Linked DNA regions of Homo sapiens: region 2 is linked to region 1. The links are contacts of gene promoters, found by promoter capture Hi-C in blood cells and fetal thymus (Javierre and others, 2016). All regions are on one chromosome and are shown on one strand. The core of a region is centred on a gene start or on the middle of the fragment in contact, and the rest is flanking DNA. Distances in the headings are between cores, read along the strand shown. Region 1 overlaps PEBP4 (phosphatidylethanolamine binding protein 4). Region 2 holds the start of CCAR2 (cell cycle and apoptosis regulator 2).

Region 1 (2,926 bases), core at 293-2,792:
TGAGCATCCCAGAGACAAGCAGGTTTCCAGAAACTATCTCTCAGTAATGCAGAACCCACCTTCCAGCATCGAAACTGGGGGCCGCATGAACTTTGACAAGGAGACAACAATCAAGGTGGGACAGATTTGTGCCTCAAACTCTCTTGAAAATATAATTTTCTTCCCTTGGATATAGCTGGCTCGAGTGAAGCAGCCTTCTTTTAATCTTGACAAAATAATGAAATCAGATCAGTGATATTGGCGTGTTTCATGTGGACACATGATGCTGGGAGAACTTCAGAGCTAGGCAGCTCCCACAACTGCCAAGAGACTGAAGCTGAACTTCAAGGCAGAGTCCTCCAGAGTGGCTTAGGCAAAGTCTCCACCTTGCTGAAGCCCTTCCTGGTCCACCACTCCTTGTGGAGGAGAGGGGAAGGTGGGAGCCAGGGTCTGGGGCTTTGCCGGGCTGGTGGCCGCCTCAACATTGGCTTTGGGATGAATCTCAGGACCAGACTTCCCCGCCCTTGTGTGGGAGGTGTGAGGGGCTGGAGCTGGGAGGCAGGAAGTGAGCGCAGATGGGCTACCGCCTGGACAGCTGTGCGGGGAACAGAGCACATCTGTCTGGGTGTGAGTGGGGCCCCTCCCCACAACCTCTGCTGATTCTACATGTTTGATAGGGTGTGGGCTGAGGGTGTGGGCTGAGGGTCCCAAATGGGGAAGAAGATGGGAAAGTCTGACTATAGAGCAGGAACGAGGGTTGCTGATGGGGTATGTTCAGATGGAGGGAGAGGAGGGTTGAAGAGAAAGTGGAAAATGGAAGCAAACAGATCAAATTTTATCTTTCTCAGGATGGGCTCTGGGCTTTCAGCGGCTCTCCAAGCCCCAGGGTCTGATGTCTGTTCCTCTGGGAAGCTGCCCTAGACCCCTGGCCGCCCCACCCACAGGGTGCTCCCTCCTGGTGCTTCCAGTATCTTACATCGTAGTTGTGAAAGTCCCTGGGATAACTGCTCATTTTTCTACCTTACCTACTGGACTGCGGGTGTATTAAGATCAGAGACCTTGTCTCTGTGACTGAATCCTCACTCTGTAGACGTGTGTTGAGTGAATGAATGATTTTATGACCTTAACCAACACAAATTTTTCTATTTAATTCCTTAATTTTTCTCTAATTGGCTTTAAAAATTGCTAGGAAAGCTTATCCCAAGTAGATGCCTGGGAGATCTTTGGGAGTTAGAAGCTGGAGTAGATTTCTCATCAGAAATTTGCCAGCAGGCCTGGAAGTGAGAGAGCCTTTTGCTCTTTTCAGGGAGCAAAGCAGAGAGGAAAGGCTCATTCTAGAAACTGCACACCCTGACTTGGCTTCATGGCCATTTGTGTGGCCTCCTTGGGGCGGTTGGTCTCCCTCCACATGAAGCTGTCATCTGCCTGATATTGAGCCAGCTAGGCAGGGAGTATGGATCACACAGACCTCTGCAGGCTCAGGAGGTGGATAATTTCCCCACATCTCTCCCCTCCCTCACCTCTCTCTGGTTTTCACAGTGCAATGAAAGGATGTGGGAGTTTGAGACCCATCTCTGCTGTGTGGCCCTGGGTGAGTCAGTTCTCCTCTTTGGGCCTCAGTGTTCTCATCTATAGAATGGGAGGGCTGGACTGAGACTCCTTCCGGCTCTTAACTACTGTGAATCTGGTAGGCTAATGAGGAGGGAATATGGCCCTTGGTGGTTATTACTGTCTCCTGAGAGCCTGGGCTGGGGCTTTCCCTTAACTTAGGTGTGGGAAAGTGGGGAAGGGCCCAAGAGGCCATTATTCCACTCCCGGGTTTCGAAACCACTCCTGAGTTCACCTGCTGCTATAACGGTGACTCTTCTTGGATGATTTAGTTGAGTCTTGCCTGGAGTCCAAAGATCTGCTTGAGTGATTCTTAAATGTTTCTCAAGCTTCTGCTCCTGGCTTTCTATTATCTAGCGGAGTGTAACAGAAATGCCAATAGGCAGGAAGGAAGAGCTGAAGTTCCCAGGGCTTTGGGCCAAAATCGTATACTCATTTCTCTCCCTCTTTTTTTTTTTTTTTTTTTTTTTTTTTGAGACGGAGTCATGCTCTGTCACCCAGGCTGCCGCGCAGTGGCGTGATCTCGGCTCATTGCAACCTCTGCTTTCCGGGTTCAAGCGTTTCTCCTGCCTCAGCCTCCTGAGTAGCTGGGATTACAGGTGCCCGCCACCACACTCAGCTAATTTTTGTATTTTTAGTAGAGATGGGGTTCTACCATGTTGGCCAGTCTGGTCTCAAGCTCCTGACCTCAAGTAATCCATCCACCTTGGCCTCCCAAAGTGGTGGGATTACAGGCGTGAGCCACCGTGCTGGGGCAAAATTGTATACTCTTTTCTAACATCATTTTTGTCATCATCATCACCATCCATTACTGATAATGTTAGACATTTATTGTTCTTTTTTTTCAGCCATGTGCAGTGGGTAAGTACATCAGCAAGCAAACTGGCCTCAAGAATCCCGCCCTATCCTGGGCATCTGGGGTTGAGGCTGGCTGTGCCAACCTTTGCACAGGGTTTCAATCTGACCTCACTCAGAAAACGGAGCCACTTGCTTAGAGTCCCTCTCTCTGAACACGCTCTCCCCTCTGGAGGAAAAGCATTGCAATCCCAAGCTCCTGCTGCTGCCGTACATCTGCATCTTATTCATCTTTGAAGCTCCTGCAATGCCTCCAACGGGGACACAACTAAAGGTGCTCGCTAAATACTTATTGATAATAATCATTATAATGATGTATCATAATAGATTCAGCGGGGAAGTTGGCTACTGAGCTGCCCTGAGCTGAGACCCATATTTAACTCCTTGTCTGAGCATCTTCTGTGCTCAGGCCAGAGCGACAGCCTTGCGAGGCTAGCGTGGGATGGTCTGGAGACAAGGTGGCAAGACTCAGGCAGGAGCTGAA
Region 2 (2,926 bases), core at 290-2,789, 150 kb before region 1:
AAAGGCCTCAGTGCCGCCCCCACCGGAAGACCTTTATGCCATCATTAGTGGTTAAGAAGCAACGAGCAAAAAACCTTTCTGTAGGCTGAGACCTCTCGGTGCACCTGGTGACCCTGGGTGGAGGGGACTTGCTGTGAAGTCTTCCTCGCCCTCTGCCCTCTTGCTGCTTCTCCACATTGCCAGGAAAAGCTGCTGACGCCTGCCCTCCTCTCTTGAGTCGAGGGCTGAATCTTTCTCCTCTAAGCAGTCTGGTCAGGAACCTTGGTTTCTTGAGAGGCCCCCAAGATGCCGCAGCTCCAGGGCTCTTCCTCCTCACCAGAAATCCCTGGGCTTCCACAATGTGAACTCACTCATTGTCAGGTGTCCGTGGAGTGTTTTTGGCATGGTGACCTGTCTGGGCCCAGCATGTTGCAGATGTGTATTTATGCGCAATGGTATGCATATCTCTGTGTGACTGTCAGTGTTGCAAGCTGGCTGGATCCAACCATCTCTTCTGAAATAATGCATCCAAAGGGTTGATATTCTGGGGGAGGTCACTGCAGAAGGATGGAACTGACCTTTATTCCCCAGTGGGCAGTTACTGAGCTTTCCTCCTCAGAGCCATGCTGGCAGCCCTGGGACAGAGAACGGTGTGGCTTTGGCTGCCTCTGCATGGAATCTTGCCCCGGACTCCTGAAGACTGCACAAGGAATGAGGAAGATCAGGGACAACCTGGGAACTGAATAACTTTCAAAGCCAGTGCTCAGCTTCTCTGCTCCGTACTAGCGTTTACAGGTCTTAATTCAAACCAGATGCCTGTACTAGTTTTTAGACCCCAAGTCAACCTTTCTGAGCCACAGCTTCCCGCTGGGAATAATGATGCCTGCCCTATCTACCTCACAGACTTGTTATGAGGATAAAGTGAGATTAAACTGCCTCAAAGTGCTTTGTAAACCTCAGGTGAATAGGAAAGGGGAAAGTAAGGCTGGAGTGATGATGGGGAGGTCGGAGGATAAGGGGGGGCTGGGATTGCTAATGGGGACTAAAATGGCCAGTCTCCTGGCAAGATTTTGAGCAGGTCATTTCATTGAGGCCTCTTAGATTTCATATTTGAGAATTAGGGCACTGATTCCTGACTGGCTAGGCATGGTGGTCACTGGCTTGAGTCAGACCAGGAATGTCTCTTAGAAATGGTCACTGATAGGCATCCTTCTCCTCCAGTCAGGAGGGGCTGGTTTCCTTATCTGTTGCAGTCTCGACTGCCAGAGGGAGGCGAGCGTGGTAGGCAGTCGGGGGTCCCTTGTGTTTGGGGGGCCCAGCTCCCGCTTCCTTTGAGCCCGGAACCAATGATCCGAAGCCTTCTTTCCTGATGGGATTCTTTAGCGAGGACACTACCGAGGCGCGACTTCCTGACGCGCATCCGATCCGGGAAGGCGCACTTCCGCTCCCCAGTTGCCGCGGGATGGCAAGCCGGCGTGGGGGAAGGGAGAGGTCGGCGGAGACGAGGGAGGGACCATATCCGGGAGAGCGGCAGCTTCCGACCAGTGGTCGCGCTTCCGGAGAGGCGCTTCCGGTGGCGGCGGCAGCAGCGGCTGTGGTGGTTCCGGGTGTCTTTGTCCCCCCGGTGTCGCTGCCCTGGCCCGCAGGTGGGTTGGGGGGCCCCCTGCCGCCCCTCTGCCCCTTCGCCCCTCCGCCCCTCCGCTGGCCGAGGGGCTGCGAGGGCCGGGCGGCGAAGATGCGTGGGGCGCGGAAGGGGCCGAGCCCCTCTTTGGACTGCAAGTCCCGTCTCCCTGGCAACGGCCTCGGCCTTGGGGGCGGGCGGGAGGAGGAGAAACCGCGCGCCTCAGTCCTCCCTTGGTGGCCTCGCCGCGGCTCTGCTGGGAGACCCGGCGCTGGCGGCTGCTGAGGCCGGAGCGGAGGGCCCGGGAGCGTGGGAGCAGGAGGGTGGCGCGCAGCCGGTTTCGCGTTTGGTCGGCCAGGGAGCTGCCTTCCCACCAGCCGGTCGAGGAAACAACGGGTCGGGCTTCCGGGGAGAGGGCCCACACAGTCTCCTCGCCGGCACCGGCCTCCTCCATTTTTCCGGGCCTTGCGTGGAGGGTTTTGGCGGATGTTTTTGAACGAAGGAATGTCATCGGGGCTCTCTCGAGCCCCTCACCCCGCCAGCTACTCTGGGGGTGGCGTGGCATAGTGAGAGGAGCGCTAAGTTGTTGGGAGGCCTGGGTGTGAGTAGCAGTTTTGTCACTACCTGGTTATGTGGCCCCGGGCAAGTCTCTTGATCTCTCTGAGCATCAGTTTCCTTGTCTGTAAAACAGCATGACAGTATCATGCACCACTAGGTTATTGTCAGGGCAAACTGGAACAATGTAATTTCTTGTTTCATTTCTTTCTTCTCTATATTCTCTCCATCCATTGCTTTCATTCATTCTTATTACCCACCTCCCTGTTTTCCGAAATATCCTTACTTAAGATTCTCCACTTTTCCGGGTATAGATGGAAATTTCCCTTATAAGCTGTTAATTTCTTTCTTTTTGGATTGAAGCCTTTTCCCCACGACTCTGAAAGAGGACAGCGTTCCCAATGTCCCAGTTTAAGCGCCAGCGGATCAACCCGCTTCCAGGGGGACGCAACTTCTCAGGTGATCACTGTTCTCCCTACCTGGCCTCATCCTGGGAAGTATGTGCTCTGGAGTTAGTTTGGGGTTTCCCTGGTGGAGAGCAATTTGCTGCTGATGTTCCTCTGGAAAGCAGGAGATGCCCACAGTGATTGCCAGTGAAGCTCTGTGGAGGAGCTGGCTGGAGCTGTAGCCTTTGGATTTACCACATCCTTTGGTTGACTCGTGCTTAAGGTGGTAGGGGCGGTTCCTGGAGATTGCTTCTCTTTCCCCATAGGCACAGCTTCAACATCTCTTCTGGGCCCTCCTCCTGGTTTGCTCACTCCTCCTGTGGCC

What was found. Contacts are between HindIII fragments. The CHiCAGO score rates a contact against its expected background, and 5 or more counts as called.
Region 2: the fragment with the promoter of CCAR2 here is called in contact with a fragment that was not itself captured in region 1 in 13 of 17 cell types (naive CD4 T cells, non-activated CD4 T cells, naive CD8 T cells and 10 more); the score reaches 10.8 in naive CD4 T cells.

The regions. Positions count from the first base shown.
Region 1 is chr8:22,753,293-22,756,218 of GRCh38, forward strand. The region is part of intron 4 of PEBP4 (phosphatidylethanolamine binding protein 4); the gene reads right to left. LOC107986925 (a long non-coding RNA gene) reads left to right here. Exons shown (of 3, transcript XR_007060852.1): 1 at 1-1,570; 2 at 2,436-2,716. Among named protein-coding and RNA genes, the nearest start is that of EGR3, 61 kb to the left of the region's middle. RefSeq lists an enhancer at 1,771-1,880. The HindIII fragment of the contact is 743 bases long and covers 1,172-1,914 here.
Region 2 is chr8:22,603,218-22,606,143 of GRCh38, forward strand. It overlaps CCAR2 (cell cycle and apoptosis regulator 2), which reads left to right and starts at 1,540. Exons shown (of 21, transcript NM_001393997.1): 1 at 1,540-1,625; 2 at 2,519-2,614; 3 at 2,868-2,926. The coding sequence starts at 2,557. C8orf58 (chromosome 8 open reading frame 58) reads left to right here. Exons shown (of 7, transcript NM_001013842.3): 7 at 1-925. The coding sequence ends at 89. LOC107986876 (a long non-coding RNA gene) reads right to left here and starts at 1,783. Exons shown (of 1, transcript NR_160769.1): 1 at 1-1,783. RefSeq lists enhancers at 1,258-1,367, 1,374-1,874 and silencers at 1,538-1,837, 1,898-1,957. The HindIII fragment of the contact is 4,257 bases long and covers 1-2,926 here.